Linked DNA regions of Homo sapiens: region 2 is linked to region 1. The links are contacts of gene promoters, found by promoter capture Hi-C in blood cells and fetal thymus (Javierre and others, 2016). All regions are on one chromosome and are shown on one strand. The core of a region is centred on a gene start or on the middle of the fragment in contact, and the rest is flanking DNA. Distances in the headings are between cores, read along the strand shown. Region 1 holds the start of STARD13 (StAR related lipid transfer domain containing 13). Region 2 overlaps NBEA (neurobeachin).

What was found. Contacts are between HindIII fragments. The CHiCAGO score rates a contact against its expected background, and 5 or more counts as called.
Region 2: a fragment that was not itself captured here is called in contact with the fragment with the promoter of STARD13 in region 1 in 1 of 17 cell types (M0 macrophages); the score reaches 5.4 in M0 macrophages.

Annotation. Positions count from the first base shown.
Region 1 is chr13:33,281,751-33,289,551 of GRCh38, forward strand. STARD13 (StAR related lipid transfer domain containing 13) reads right to left here and starts at 4,005. Exons shown (of 14, transcript NM_178006.4): 1 at 3,720-4,005. The coding sequence starts at 3,888. RefSeq lists enhancers at 4,108-4,167, 4,178-4,307. The HindIII fragment of the contact is 3,531 bases long and covers 1,299-4,829 here.
Region 2 is chr13:35,160,696-35,168,496 of GRCh38, forward strand. NBEA (neurobeachin) reads left to right here. Exons shown (of 59, transcript NM_001385012.1): 23 at 1,055-1,272; 24 at 3,661-3,814. Among named protein-coding and RNA genes, the nearest start is that of NBEA, 220 kb to the left of the region's middle. The HindIII fragment of the contact is 936 bases long and covers 3,607-4,542 here.

The sequences.
Region 1 (7,801 bases), core at 2,755-5,254:
TTATATGAGGTACTTAAAGTAGTCAAATTCATAGAGACAGAAAGTTGAATGGTGGTTGCCAAAGGCCGAGAGGAGGAGGAATGAGGAATTCTTGTTTAATGGGTATGGAGTTTCAGTTTTGCAAGATGAAAAGAGTTCTGGAGATGGATGGCGGTGATGGTTGGATATTATGAATTATGAATGTATTAAGTACCACTGAACCATACATTTAAAAATGGTTAAGATGGCAAAATTAATGTATTGTGTATTTTACCACAATAAAAAAAATTAGAAAAAAATCCAATTCTCCCTTTCCTTGGCCTAACATGGTCTTCCACCACCCCCAGCATCCTCTCTCCTATCCACTCCCAAGCGCCAGTCAGTGAGGCAAATAAGGACCATTCTTATTTCCATTCTCTCTCTCTACAACAATTTCCCTATTGATTCAAGCAAGAATGTGGGGTAGGGATTATGGGCAGTATGACTTATGATAAACTTTCACTCTGCAAAACAACACCCTCTTTTAAACATCTCCTCTCTTTTGAAATGGAATTGCAACCCCAGAACTAAAAAACAGGCTAGAGAAATGATGCATGTATGTTTTGATGTGTACCCTAAGATGAGCAAGTTTAGATTCATCCTGGGTTTGGATAATGAATTCTGATTCTATGCATCATCAAAGATTCCTTTATTTCTCCTCCTTGTTTTTCCTCCCCATGAGTGTATCTGCTATTGAATCATGTGCACGCCATTCAATGATTATCTCACTATAATGAGGTCAGTGGGGAGCAACTTACTTGTTTCCACTGTTCCCAACAACCATGAGAAATTATAAGTAATGATGTCTTAAATCAAATTAACATAATTCTAAATCTTAAAGCTCTAAAGTAGAATAATGCAAACAATTTTAGTGATGTGGCTGTCACTTTAAGATACTAACCTGTAAACTACAGAAAATAATGCTGTCATTAATTTTATTTGCACATGATTAATGGAATGATTAAAAGCTGTTAGTGACAGGGCACAATGGCTCACATTTGTAATCCCCGCACTTTGTGAGGCTGAGGTAGGAAGATCACTTGAGCCCAGGAGTTTGAGACCAGCCTGCGCAATATAGTGAGACCCTGTCTCTATAAAAAAGTTTTAAAAATTAGCCAGGCATGGTGGCACACTCCTGTAAGTCTCAGCTACTGAGGAGGCTGAGGTGGAAGGATCGCTTGAGCCCAGGAGGTCAATGCTACAGTGAACTATGATCACACCACTGCACTCCAGCCTCGGCGACAGAGTAAGACTCTGTCTCAAAAACAAAAAGAAAACAAAGCTTTTAGTAAAATAACTTGACATCCTGTGTTATTGGGTAGTAACTGGTTAAAGAGAATAAAACATGTAGCACTTTGTTTCCACTAGAGAAATATAACCTGACAGGAAATTTCATAATGAGTGACCAATTCTGGTCCTATAATATAGTGTATTGCTGTATCCTGAGTAGAAAAGTCTAAAAAGTCTCTAGTATATTATATAATCTGAAACTCAATCATAGGTTCAGTACTTTAGCACTCATTATAAAAACTAAAAAATAGTCTAGTGTATTGCAGAGCATGGACTGTCAAGCTGTATTCAAGTATCAGTTCCTACTGGGTGACCTTGGATAAGATGCTTGAAATCTGTGTGCCTCTGTTTTCTCATCTGTAAAATGGGCATAATAAAAAAAATTAACTACAATGATTTTGGTATGCTGTAACTGTTTAATCCACATTCTCTGAAATTACAGTAAACCAATCTTCTAATACAATAAACTCAATAAAATTGTTTCACATTGCTTTCTCATTGTCTTACTAAAGAGTTGTATGATGTTAACACATAATGATTTCTGAATCACAAGACTGTTGGAAATCTTTATTGCTTCCCTGTGATCTTAACTGTCAGTTTTAAGTGTTAGGCATTCATTGACTTCAAACACTCCATTGCCCAGTATAAAAAAGAGGGAATTCTCAAATTACCTAATTAGACAAAAATGAAACATAAACTGAGGGTGCCCATATGTCTGTGTGACAGGGCACGTTCAGTGATAGTGCATGTGTTCACAACTTCAAATCTTGAATGGAAAAATAACCCTCATTCCAAAAAGAACATAAATAATATTTAAATAAAATAAATTATTGTAAATACATCTAAGGAGGTCTGCAAAGCAATTTCAGCTAGTTCTCTGCAATATTTCTCATATGATATGCATGCTGAGGAACATTTATATCTTGTAGATGATAGCGCATCATTAAGCCTCGGTGTTCATAAAGATGATGGCATTTGGAAAGGCACCATTGTCAGAAATTTCTAAAACCAAAGTGGAGCTGGTTTTTATTCTAAGCCTAAAGTATTTTTAAATCTAGCCACAGGGAAATAATTACTTTTGTTTCTATTCAATCAAGACCTGGACACAGAGTTTATGCAATGACATAATATCCTTCCTGAAATCAGACCAGCATGTAGGAAGGACCAGCATCCTTCACACATAACTAGTTCCTGAACCTTTACAAACAAATCCTAATTTCCAAGGAAACAATCTCATCAAATGCTGCCCGCTAGAATACATATTGTTCTTTCTGGAAACATTACAATAAGATTTTCATGATTACAAACCCCAACTTCCTCTTTAATATTCAATATAATCTTAAACTCATTTATTTAAGTGGAAACTGTATTTTTATAATGGCTCTAAAAATTCCTGGTTAACTTATTTAGCACCAATATAATAATTTCTTTTTTTGTTGTGTAGGAGGAGGGTGATCATTAACTGACTGTCAACGTGTGTTAGGGGCTTCTTAGGAACGGCTCTAAAAATTCCTGGTTAACTTATTTAGCACCAATATAATAATTTCTTTTTTGTAGTCTAGGAGGAGGGTGATCATTAACTGACTGTAAACGTGTGTGTTAGGGGCTTCTTAGGAATGTTCGTCTTTCTGCTTTCTACTGATATACCCTATAAGGAGCATGTTTTAAATTTTTTTTTTTTTTGAGACTGGTAAATTTTAGTAATGTCCAGACTTCCAGGCTGGTATTTTGAGGGGCTGGGAATAAAAAGAATATCAAGCAGCTTATAATCAATATTCTCTTCTCTTTGCATTAGGAAGCTGGAGTTTTGTGTGCAGGTTACGGGATTTGTTTTGAGATGAACGAACACCTTAATTCTCTACCAGGAAAACAATATTAACACATCTGTGGCAACTGCTGACATAAACATACAAACAGGAAGAGAATGCGATTCTAGTGCTTAGCCTGGTGGCCTTTAGAACAGAATTCTTGCTTTCCTCCTCTTCACTAAGGATATTCGAAATACTCTGGGCAGGGTGGACATTAGTCCCTCGCCTCCTCCCTAATGAAATAAACAAGTGTCCACATTTTAAATGTGACGGAGTGTGAGGAAACTGCAGAAAAGCTCCTAAGATACACACTGAGTAACAGTTCTCATCTGTTCTGTAGACACACGTCAGTTTGGGAATTTATGATTCACTGTCCCACCGTGAAGTTTTTTGTGCACTTTATGTTGAGCTATGTGGCAGCTAAGGACTGTCCTGTTTGCTGAAAACTGCAGCCTAAAGTTATTTTTCAAAGTTACGGGTAGTGTGGCATAGAAATCCATATGTTATAAAGTGGAAACAAACAAACAAAAAAAACTGGGTTAGCATGAAATAGAGCCAACAGAAATCAGAATGAGCAACAGCCTTCCACTGCCGGCCACTCACCTTGTTGAATTTTAGTCACTAGCTGATGGCGTGCTAGAATCCGGCTCATCCTGTAAGGAGAGCGTCTTGTAGTCTGATCAAATCGCAAGTACATCTCCTGGCCCTCAGGTGTCATGGAATTTAGGTAGTAGCAGCCTGAGGCTGGGGTCCTGGGCACCTGACTGAACATCTCGGCAGATTTCCTATTGCCACCTCAGTCTGCCTGTGGCTGTTGCCGTCTGTCTCCAGTCTCAGTCAAAGAGCAAGGCACCCAGCCCAGGACAGCTCAACAGACCCAGCGATTTTTAAAAAGAAAGAGGAGTGCCAAAGCCACAACTCAGAATTCCAACCCCCGGGGCCCTCACGTGACCTCGGGAACCAATGAGAGGAAGAGAGGAAAATGGGAACGTTTGCAGTCAGCCCTAAGCCCCGACCAGAGGCAGTTCCAGCCGCCAGGGTCCCTCACACAACGCTGAAAGCAAAATACACGTATTTGACGTGCCTCAGAGCTGACGAAGCACCCAAAAGCAGCCCTCACTAAAGGAGTCGAAAGAAAAAGAGAGAGGGAAGGGCAAAACAAGTAGAAGACAAACAAGTCCAGGGCTCAGGAAACTTTTCAGCCTGTCAAAGTTAGAGAAAGCTCCTTCGCTTTCTACAGGGCAGCAGCAGCCAGGTAAAAGATGGACCTGATAAATCTCTTAAATTTAAAAAACACAACACAACAAAAAAAAACTACTTCAAACAAGCATCAACAGCTGAGCGTAAGCCACCACCTTCATTATCAAGAAACAACTCAAATAAAAACTTTTCCAGTGAAAAATAAACTTCAAGGGCTTTAACACCAGGAGTGAATACACCACAGATCCTGACCCTCACGTGATGGGAATTGGAGGGCTCTTACAGATAAGACTCAGAGAGGCAAAGTACACACGCGTTACGTATTAAGCATCCTTTCCTCTTTGATTTCTCTACTTCCCCAATTTTTAATCACCTAGAGGTAAAATACTTAGAAGGTGCCTATCACATTTAAGACACTGAATCATTTAAGACAAGAATCACTGCAGAAGTTGCAAAGGTACTTCAAAGATACTGTCATCAACCTGCTAAGGACCCATTGAGAAGTTATACAAAAGCTTCTAACATGAGGCCATATATATGTCTCAAAAAGGACGCAAACACAATGCTAGGTGAGCAATATTATTTTTGACTGGGGTGATGATTGCAAGCCAGATAGAGAAAGAGACATTTGGATAGGCTTTTTAAAATGGGGGGAATTCTGATAGGCAGAGGCTGGGGAGGGCTTTGCAAGAGACTGTAGGTACCCATGTGTGCAGATCCAGAACCAGAGTATATGGTTTAAGCAAACTGCTAGTAATTCAGTTTGGCCATATCTGAGTGTGTGTGTATATATATACGTGTATATATATATGTGTGTATATATATGTGTATATATGTGTGTATATATATACATACACACACTGAGTGACATATATGTATATGTCATTATAATTTTCCCTGTTTTTCTTCTTTAACATTGTTTGATGTGAAGAGAAAAAGTCCACAGAAAACATGTTATCAAATTCTGAGCCTGGGGCTGAAAGAATAAAGTTCTTTGATACAAAAAGTATATGACCAAGTTGCTTCTACATTTGGCTGACGGAAACATAGCCTGGCTGGGAATTTATAGTCTAATAATGAGAAATTATTTCTACATTATTTCCAAATTAAAAGTTTAACAGGATTTAAATTAGGACTTTGATTCTTCTTACTCTGGCTCTCCGAGGCCCATAAGCCTTAACAACTTTCCCTGAGGGAATTGTTGCTAGCCTGATTCTGAGAAGCAGCTCGTCTTGTATAACTGTCCCGCTATGAGAATAAACAAGTTAAGCACGATCTCTGCAGCCCAGCATGTGACAATTGCCTACTACCTCACGTAGTTGGTAATTGTCAGCCTCTTCGGGTGGTTACACAAGAGTCATCATGTCTTTGTTTTCAGGTTGGCTTCATGGCAGGAAGGGAAAGAAAGATCTATGGGGCCATACTGTGCACTTTCCATTCTTATTTAGGATTTGAGCAGCAGTTTTTCTGTTCCATAGCATCGTCTGTGGAAGGTGAAAGGGATCTGAGACCTAAGGAACTGCTCGGCAGAAGCTCGAATGGAGAAAGGTCGAGCACCATATTGCAAAGTTGGCTGCCTGGAAGGTTCATGAGCCCAGCTCAGTCCGCACCGGTGGCCGTCCAATTAAGGTGCTTGCATCAGCTGCTTTGTGCACGTGCTTTCGGCTTGATGGTCCAACACTGGGAGCATCTGTGTCATAACTTTTTGTTCAAGGCAGACACTTGGTGGTTATCACTTTTTTACTGGAAGAGAATGGAAGGAGGGTGGAGAGAGAAAGAAGAGGGGAGCATGGGACTTGAGAACATTGAACATGTTCTGGGAAACCAAGTAAAGGTGAGGAAAAGGTAAAAAGGTAAAGGTGAGGAAAAAATACGTAGCTTTTTATAGCTTTGGAGAGCACTTAAAGATAGACCGGCCATTTCCAATGCCAACCTTGCAGTTCATTGCTGACTTGGCTGCATTCTATTATGAAAACAAGTGGAATGATTCTTCCTGAGAAGGATTGCAGTGTGTCAAGGCGAGGTTACTAGATAAAACAATAACAACGACAATAAAACTTACATTGTCTCCTTTTTGCATAGTCATGAATGTGTTGAAAGTGCTGGGGTGTCTGGTTCTGAAAACATTAAGATCATAAGTTTGTATTTATGACTACATATAATATTTCATTAAAATAATCTTAGCAATAAAGAGCAAGAATTGAATTTATTTATTTATTTTTAAGATGGTGCCTCACTCTGTCTCCCAGGCTGGATTGCAGTGGCGCAATCATAGTTCACTGTAGTCTCCAACTCCTGGGCTCAAGTGATTCTCTTGCCTCAGCCTCCCAAGTAGCTGAGACTCCAGGTGCACACCATCACACCTGGCCAATTAAAAAAAAAAAAGTTGTAGAGATGGGGGTCTCTCTTTGCTTCCTAAGCTGATGGCAAACTCCTGGCTTCCAGCATTTCTCCTGCCTCAGCTTCCCAAAGTGGTAGGATTACAGGCGTGACCAATCACACTTGGCCCTACATTTTTTTTTTTAAAAAAAGGGAATTTTTATTCCCTAATTAAAAAAAAAAAGCCAACTTAGAATGAAGCCTCATTTTTTCAAAAAATCAGCCAGCATTTTAATAAGGGGCTCTAGGAAGGATCACATATCAACATTTGGTTTTCTGTATGCATATACAGGGCCGCTAAAGTTTTATTTCATAGTTCAAGTAGTATCTATAAATTCATGTACCTGCTCACCATGTTTTTGTCATTTTGTATTTCCAAGGTACTATATTTAAAGCAAATATGTAACATTATTTTCTCATTAGCATGTCATTAGTACCTTGTTTTATGCTAAAGTATTGCCATTGCTATGAAACTTGTATTTTTTAAATAAATTCTTTTTTGTGATCATATAGTCCCCGTGTTAGAAGAATTACCACTGGGGTAGACAGGTCTGTTGTATTAGAATCAAGAAGTGGCTAGTTCTCTCTCTGGCTTTTCCTTTACAGGCAACTGAGAGAGCTGGTCCTCTTCTCCAGTGAGTGCATGAAGTCCTATGGAATCAAAGAGGGAGAGAGTGCCCAAATCACAAGCATCTTCCAGGACTGACACCATATCTCTTCCTCTCTAATTCCTTTAAAAATGAGGAAAACAGATGGCACTTGTGTTCAGTTTTCACCTACTTTTCTTCCCTCCTAATCTGCTCATCAATTGTGATCTTCAGTAAGACTATTTCAGGAGTGAGATAAACAGATGGTTACTGAGAACCAAAGACAGCAAAAGAGAAGGGAAAGGAAAGAGGAGAGAAGGGAACAGCATTGAGCACCTACTATGTGCCAGGTCTGAAGCCTTCATGGCTTCACATTTTAGGTTTTTTAACATTAATCTCCACAGCTATCACTGGAGGTATCTGATTGGATGGAAAGGAGGCTAAGATTCACAGAAGTCACAAAGCAAGCAAGTGCAGAGCCTTTGTGCATCTCCAAGCTGATGCTATTTTCACTCTTTT
Region 2 (7,801 bases), core at 2,825-5,324, 1.9 Mb after region 1:
CTGGTTGTTAGGAAATGTTAGTGCTTCAGTTTTGACCTCACTGGAATAAAGCTAAAAACAGATGATGTTTTCTGATATGGATTTTAATTGTTGAGCTCTGAGTTATGACTGTTTCTTTATTTTCTAGGATAAATAATACCTTATGGTTAAGAGTTGAAGAAATAAGAATACATTTACCGTTAATGACTTGGGTTTTGTTATCCTCTGGGTGCCCCACTTGCCTTTTAATGTCATTGAAAATACATTGAATGTGTTTCCATTAGGTTTATACTATGAAGAGTAAACCATGCCTGTCTTGTGTCTTTGTACTCCAGTAAGAATCCTTCATAATATATCGTGTGTGGGGAAAGTATTTTTATTTTTTCTCTAACTGCCAATTTCCATTTTTGTGGCAGTTGCATTGTAGTGATAATTGGCAGGAGATGAGCATATTGAATTAGATACAGATGTAAAATAAAGGAAAACATCGTGCGTTGTTTATTGAACAATAGGCTTGCCTGTTGAACACTAGGCTTGCCTGTTTTTCATTTGGAGTTTATAGACATTTTTCTGGTTTGTTTTCTAACTTATCAAATGCATTTGTGTTTTTGAATTGAAGTACTGTAAGTGAAACAGACTTCAAAGTTAACTTGAAACTGTCAAGTAATATTTTTTCTAATCTTGTGCTTTAGTTACAATTAGTTGATGACATATATCCAGTATACTTCACTGTGTATATGCTCACTTCATTAAGGAAGTAATGTGGTCTAATTTAAAGACTCTTAATGGGGTAAAGGGGTCTGGTTTTCAGTGTGAACTTTGGTGTTAACTTTAGGTATTTGATTATCTTGCCTAGTTTCTGCAATAGTAAAATAAAAGCAATAATGGAGACTTCAGCCCAAAAAGTTTCCTGTGCAAGGAATTACCAGGTGAATAATATATGTGAAATATATTAAACTGCTAAAGTCATATGCTAAAGCATTAAAGCATTATTCACTTTACTATACTCACAGTTTCATTTTAAAATGAGGCATTTCTTTTGTATTCCACAAAAGTTCATCTTTTCCTTCTTTAGGCTGTGCAGGGTCGGTCTATCACCCAACAAGACCGAGATCTCCGAGTTGATTTAGGATTTCGAGGAATGCCAATGACTGAGGAACAGCGACGCCAGTTTAGCCCAGGTCCACGGACTACAATGTTTCGTATTCCTGAGTTTAAATGGTCTCCAATGCACCAGCGGCTTCTCACTGATTTACTATTTGCATTAGAAACTGATGTACATGTTTGGAGGAGGTAGAAATATTTCTTTTTTATAAATTAAAAGCAAATATTTAAAATATGCCATTGCCTATTCTATTTGGTTTTGACAAAACCAAAAATCTGCCTTGATTAAAGGAATTTCCACATTTTTCTTGTATCTTGTTTAAATTAATACCATGTACTAAATTTATTAGTGATAATAATATATACTGTTTAAGTTTAAAATCACCCTGTGACATGTGTATTCAGAGCCTGTAGTATTTAAGCAGTTAGTGGATATCAGTTCAAAGATGATAACTTAGACAACAAATCTACATAAAGTAAACCATGGCCTTTCTAAATTTTCAATTTAATTTTTTAATAGTAAATGTGAAACAAATTAATTAAGAGAGCACATCATTTACATAGGCATGAATACAATTAGGAAGTCGATGGATATAAGTAGCAAGGGCAACTTAAATGATCTAGCACAACATTCTTAGAAATGTTGGCTTCCATGCTTCTCCTCATTTTCCTTTTAGGATTCAAGGTGGCTGCTTCAGCTCCCAACCTCAATTCATAAGAAACCTGCCCAAATTAAAAGGCAGAGATGACTCTTCTTCCTTCCTCTTCTTCCTGTTTTTCCTCTGCCTCCTCTTCTTCTCTCTCCTCTTTCACTTTCTCTTTTTCTTCTCCTCTTTTCTTCTTTTTTTTAAAGGAAGCCCGTCAAGAAATTTCCCCCTTATATCTCGTGAGCCAGCAGGATCACATCCTCTTTCAAAATCAATCATCAGAAAAAGAAAATGGGATTATAATGACTGGCTTTTAGAGACTAATACTGGTTAATTAACTAGTAACTAGGGTTAGGCTAGTCTTTCCTATACCCAGTCAAGCTCAATAATAAAACAAAATATAAAATGTGTGTTAGCAGGGAAAAAGTTATGACTGTTGTGGAAGAAGTCAATAAAGTCTGCCATAGAAAGATTTTACTTTTGATTTTATTTGATCAATTTGTTCTTAGACTACTCATATACTTTCATTGCTAATTGTTATATGATAAATTACCTAGAGATGGTAACTGAGGAAACCTAAATACCATGAAATACATTGCTATTAACATGAAGACCAATGTATGGAGATAAATTATGTAATTTGATAATTATAATATCAGTAGCCTCCAAGTGAGTGATACTCAGCTTTTTTTCCAACCACCTACTCTGTGTTTTTGTTTTCTTTAATGGGCTCTCATGAAATTACCCAGGTAGAATTTAATGTAATTTAAATTTTTTAAAGGTAACACTTTATTTTTAGGACAGAGAGAAACATCTTGAAATTTAAGATACACAGTGATAGATAATAATTCACAACTCTAAAAGGGTGAGAATTATTGACTCAATTTTGACCATGAAGTAATTTCTTTTTTTTAATCTTATTTTTTTCCCATTAAAAAACAGTTCAGGCTAGGTGTGGTGGCTCACACCTATAATCCCAGCACTTTGGGAGGCCAAGGCGGGAGGATAGCTGGAGCTCAGGAGTTCGAGACCAGGGCAAGACCCTGTTTTTACAAACATTAACTAGGCGTGGTGGTGTCCACCTGTAGTCCCAGCTACTCGGGAATCTCCTGGGCCCAGGGAGGTTGAGGATGCACTAAGCCATGATCCCACCACTACACTCTAGCCTGGGTGACAGCAGAGATCCTTTCTCAAAAAAAAAAAAAAAATTATATTCTTGACTGACACCAAACGAAAGCAGGGTATTTTTTTGACATCTACATTGTATGTTTTGTATGAGAACACTGTACTACCAACTTACTTTGAGATTTTTTCCTTTTCTTATTAAATAAGTTCTTGAATTTGTACTGATTTATTTATACTCCCCTATCATGTCACTTCTTTAGCAGTATACATTTCAATGTGACTAGTCAAAGGTGGGGCTGAAGTCATTGGGGATGTGACAAATTGAAACTGCCTACAAAATAGAACTTTCAGTTAAATTTTTAGGTTTTCGGTTTCAAATTTTATTTATGGTTATGAAAATTTTGAATTGGTTATATTTTGAGTTTCCATATTATTTTTAACATTAGACATACTTTTTATATTTAAAAGGTTTTGCCTTTCAACAAAAAACAATCAGATTTGGCAAAATAAATATTTTTAGCCAAATTTGTTGAGTCAGTCATATGTCTTAGAATCTAGTACTGTATTTTTCAAGCAAAGTAATAATATAATGAGTTAATATACTTGGATACAACAAAATCCTGTGGAGATGAATGCTTAGTTTTTGGTAATATGATATCTCAATTATAAATTGCTTTATTTTATAATTTAATTTTAAATATAGCTAGCTCCTACAGTTCTATAATTTTTCACTTGTTATTCTAATTGTCTAAGCTTTTCATTTAAGTAAGCCAAAACATACTCATTTCTGTTTTCTGTATTTTAGCCATTCTACAAAGTCTGTAATGGATTTTGTCAATAGCAATGAAAATATTATTTTTGTACATAACACAATTCACCTCATTTCCCAAATGGTAGACAACATCATCATTGCTTGTGGAGGAATTTTACCTTTGCTCTCTGCTGCTACATCACCAACTGTAAGTACTTTGCCTCCATCTAGTGGTTATATTTTATAAATACATGACTTTAGCATTTCAGTGGTGGTCTAGGCTATAAACACATTTTAACCAGACCTGTACTTTTTAGGCAAATTTTTAACCATTTAAATTTCTATTTCCACCACTTTTGTTTATCAGTGTTGGGTTCCAGCTGTGTGTGCTTATGAAAATGTTTCTCTGGTAATTCTGATGAATACTTCATCAGAAGAGTATTGCATTCTTCATCAAAGATATTGTATATCTCTTCAAATCTGTAGTATAAATAAACTCTTAAAATCCTTGTTATTTAACATTTTCATTTATTTACTGATTCAACATTTATTTTACAAAATCTAGCCTTGTCTTGATTTGTTTCTATATAAAACATTGAAATGTGTTAATATAATACATTTTAAAGGCATTTAATGTTAATTGTGTATGTCATTTAAAATAAAATAGGTCAATGTTAACTTTGTATTTTAGTTGTCATTAAAAACAAATTCTTTGATTCAGACCAAGGCAGACTCCATAGCTACTTGCTCAGATGGGAAAGAATATAGAATTTTGCTTCCCATATTACCCACGTTCTTGTTGCCGTATTAGAAACTCATCCTTAAGCTCAGAAAGCATACCTTTGCCAGAGGGAAATATTTCATTTTACTAAGATGTGCTTTAGTTGGTGAGACACTGTTTCCAAGTTGATCTCTAAGTGTATTTCATCATTAACAAGCTTTTTCTACATGACTCTTTTTCTTACTGTTCTTTTGTTAATGCCACCACCATCACCAGAGCAGCCTTGAAACTTCAACATTAGCAGCCATAGGCTATATCCTCACACACTTTCCCCAGGCCTTACTCTTCTGTTTTATTCATGAATTTGCTCAAGAAGTCCACAAAGGGAAGCATTCCAGTTCAGAAGGAGGAATGCAACAGAGCAAGTCACCAGTAGGGCCTTAATCAAATTAGCAGCTGAACCAAGGAAATGGAGCTAAGAAGAACAGTATAAATTGTTGATGGTGTGTGAAGAGTGCAAGTATACATACACCACTCCTTTTCTTTAATCTCTCTTTTCCTCTGGTGATTTATACCAAATTCTGGTAAATTGAGAGTTGTGTATGATTTTTAAAATGCTTTCTAATAGTGAGACATAGAGGGCATTTTTTTCTTCTCTTTTCTTTTCTTTTTTTTTTTTTTTGACAGAGTATCATTCTGTGACCCAGGCTGGAGCAGAGTAGGGCGATCTCAGCTCACTGCAACCTCCGCCTCCTGGGTTCAAGCAATTCCTCTGCCTCAGCCTCCCAAGTAGCTGGGATTATAGGTGTGCACCACCACACCCAGCTAATTTTTGTATTTTTAGTAGTTATGGGGTTTCACTATGTTGGCCAGGCTGGTTTCAAACTCCTGACCTCAAATGATCTGCCTGTCTCAACCTCCCAAAGTGCAGGGATTACAGGCATGAGCCACTGCTCCCGGCCAACGTGTTTTTTGTTTTATATATTGAAGACTGAATAAATCAATATTTTCTTTGTGACATTTTTCTTGATCATATAAATTGCATTTTGTTTTATAAATTATCATTTGTTATGAAGAAATTTTTAAAAGGTTGTATTGAAATTCACTTTGAAATGTAATATTGAATGTTTTTAAATTTTGCATGGAACATAAAATGCTTCTTATGTAAAAAAAACAGTTTAGCAATAAGTTATTTCAATTTGTATAGGTTTAAAATATTCACATTACTAAATAGTTTTCCAAATTTTAAAGGCAAAAGATCTTTAACTATTAAGATAGAATATTAAAGTAATGAAGTAAACTATAACATACATACTATTGCACCAGTCAAATTTGCTTATTTGTTTTATGATGATTGTACAGTAAAGATACTGACGCTTTGAGGTTGGCTTCCAAAATTATTACGATTCAATTTTGACCACTGTAGTTTGGAATTTAAAATTATTTATTACCTAGACTATCTCAACAGACTTGGGAATTCATTCAATTATAGAAACCTTTGTTTATTTTCTCAATTTCTATATTTCTGTTATTTTGGCCCATTAACTGTTTGGACCTATGCCTGGTTGTACAACATAGCTGATTTTATGTTTTTAGAATGAATTGCTTCCTTAAGAGAAATAGCCGAACCTTTCTCCCATTTTGTATCTGGTAGAACTATGATTGGTGCTGACTGCTGAATGTTGTTTTTCTATTATGAATGTTGTTTTTGTATTACTGGGTTGTATAATATTCTTGCTAGAAGTTGTAACATAGCAGAGGGAAAAAGTTGGGAAAGAGGAGGTTGAATAATGAGGGAAATTAAACCGAATATTTGGGCTTTTTATATTTAAATTTAAAGTGTAAAAAGCCAAAAGAGAATTTTGGAAGGGATAAGTGAAAAAAGGAAACATTGGCAACGTGAAGATTACTGAAAGGAAACATTGTCTTGTAGGTGCTTTTAGAATTTTAATCCTAGATATATGAAGAGAGATGGAAACATTTGAAACTAAGGTTTGAGTGAGCTGGTAATTTTGTTTATATATATATAGTTTTTCAGAATATTCTTGTGTGCATTTTATGAAGAAATAGGAATAATAATGGTTTATGGCAGTAGTTCACAAACTTTTGTGTATGGGGCCAGATGGGAAATAGTTTAGGTTTCATTGGCAGTATTGTTATCTGTCACAGCTAGTCAACTCTGCTGTGATAGTACAAAAGCAGCAATAGACAATACATAAACAAATATTTTTTGTCTGCTGTTTCTGTGAGATTGACATAGAAGTGGTCTCTTTTCTGCCCTGGAAATTTAGATGAGTACAGTAATTTATACTAGAGATAACATTTTTGTATTGCTGTTATAGTATCATCATCATGGAAGAAAATTTTTGAACTGTTTAATCTTAGTTGGAAGGTACATATCTTAATGGAAACTTAAGAAAAAAAGAACATATATATATTGTTTATAATGATAGTTTGAGCACCTTGAACTTAGTACTCTTGAAGAAGCAGCACTTTATGGGAGTTTCAGTTTTGCCCAGATTACTTAAATTCATATGTAGCATAGAAAATAAATTACAAAAATAGTTTCAGATCTCCGAGTTAGACCAATAGTTTTAACTGTACTCAGGGAAAAAAAATAGACCTCTTAGTATGTAGTTTGGCCAATCTTTGCTTTGGGAAAGCAGCATTATTTTTGTTGTTGTTGATTTTTTTAGTTGATGTTTCTGTGACTAGTTAATTGAATCCTCTCATTTATTCTCTAATATATTGTTTAACTTGGTCATAAATGAAAGTGAAAAATTGGAGAAGAAAAAGAAAAGCAAAGAACATGGATCAACCACAAATTGCACACTTTGTGATTTTAAGTTGACCACTTTAGTCAGCCATCCAGAACACTGAATATTATGGAGCTTAATTCAGGGCTTAATTTTCTCTGTCCCAGAAAAATAGTAGAGACTGACATTTCTAGCTCTCCTAATAGTTTCATAATTATAAGAAAGAAGAGCTGCTTTTTCTATTCTGTCCAAAAATAACAAAGTCTTAATTTTAGTTTATTTTTATTATCAGAATGTATCATAAATAGATTTGGAAAAATTATGAATAATGTTGTTGGTTTTGCTGTTCTTTTGTTTATGTCATAGGACTGATCATACTTTACTATTCTCAGGATGCTTTTATATGTTTTCCTATACAATGTACCATGAAAATAGCATATTTTAAGATTTATACTCACATGTACTTGTCAAAAATTAGAAAGAATAGTTGATGATTTTTATTGTGAAAACTAATTCTATCTGATATTTGAATATAATGAATATAATTATTAATGTAATAAGAATCTTAAACTTAGTATAATACCTATTTAATTACCTTTATTCATATTCAGGCCTCATTTAGTATATCAAGTTATTTTCTAGCATGGAAAAGTGGTTTATAAGTTATAATCTCTCAAATATTTTGTTATTTTATTAACTTCTCAGAATTTTCAACTAT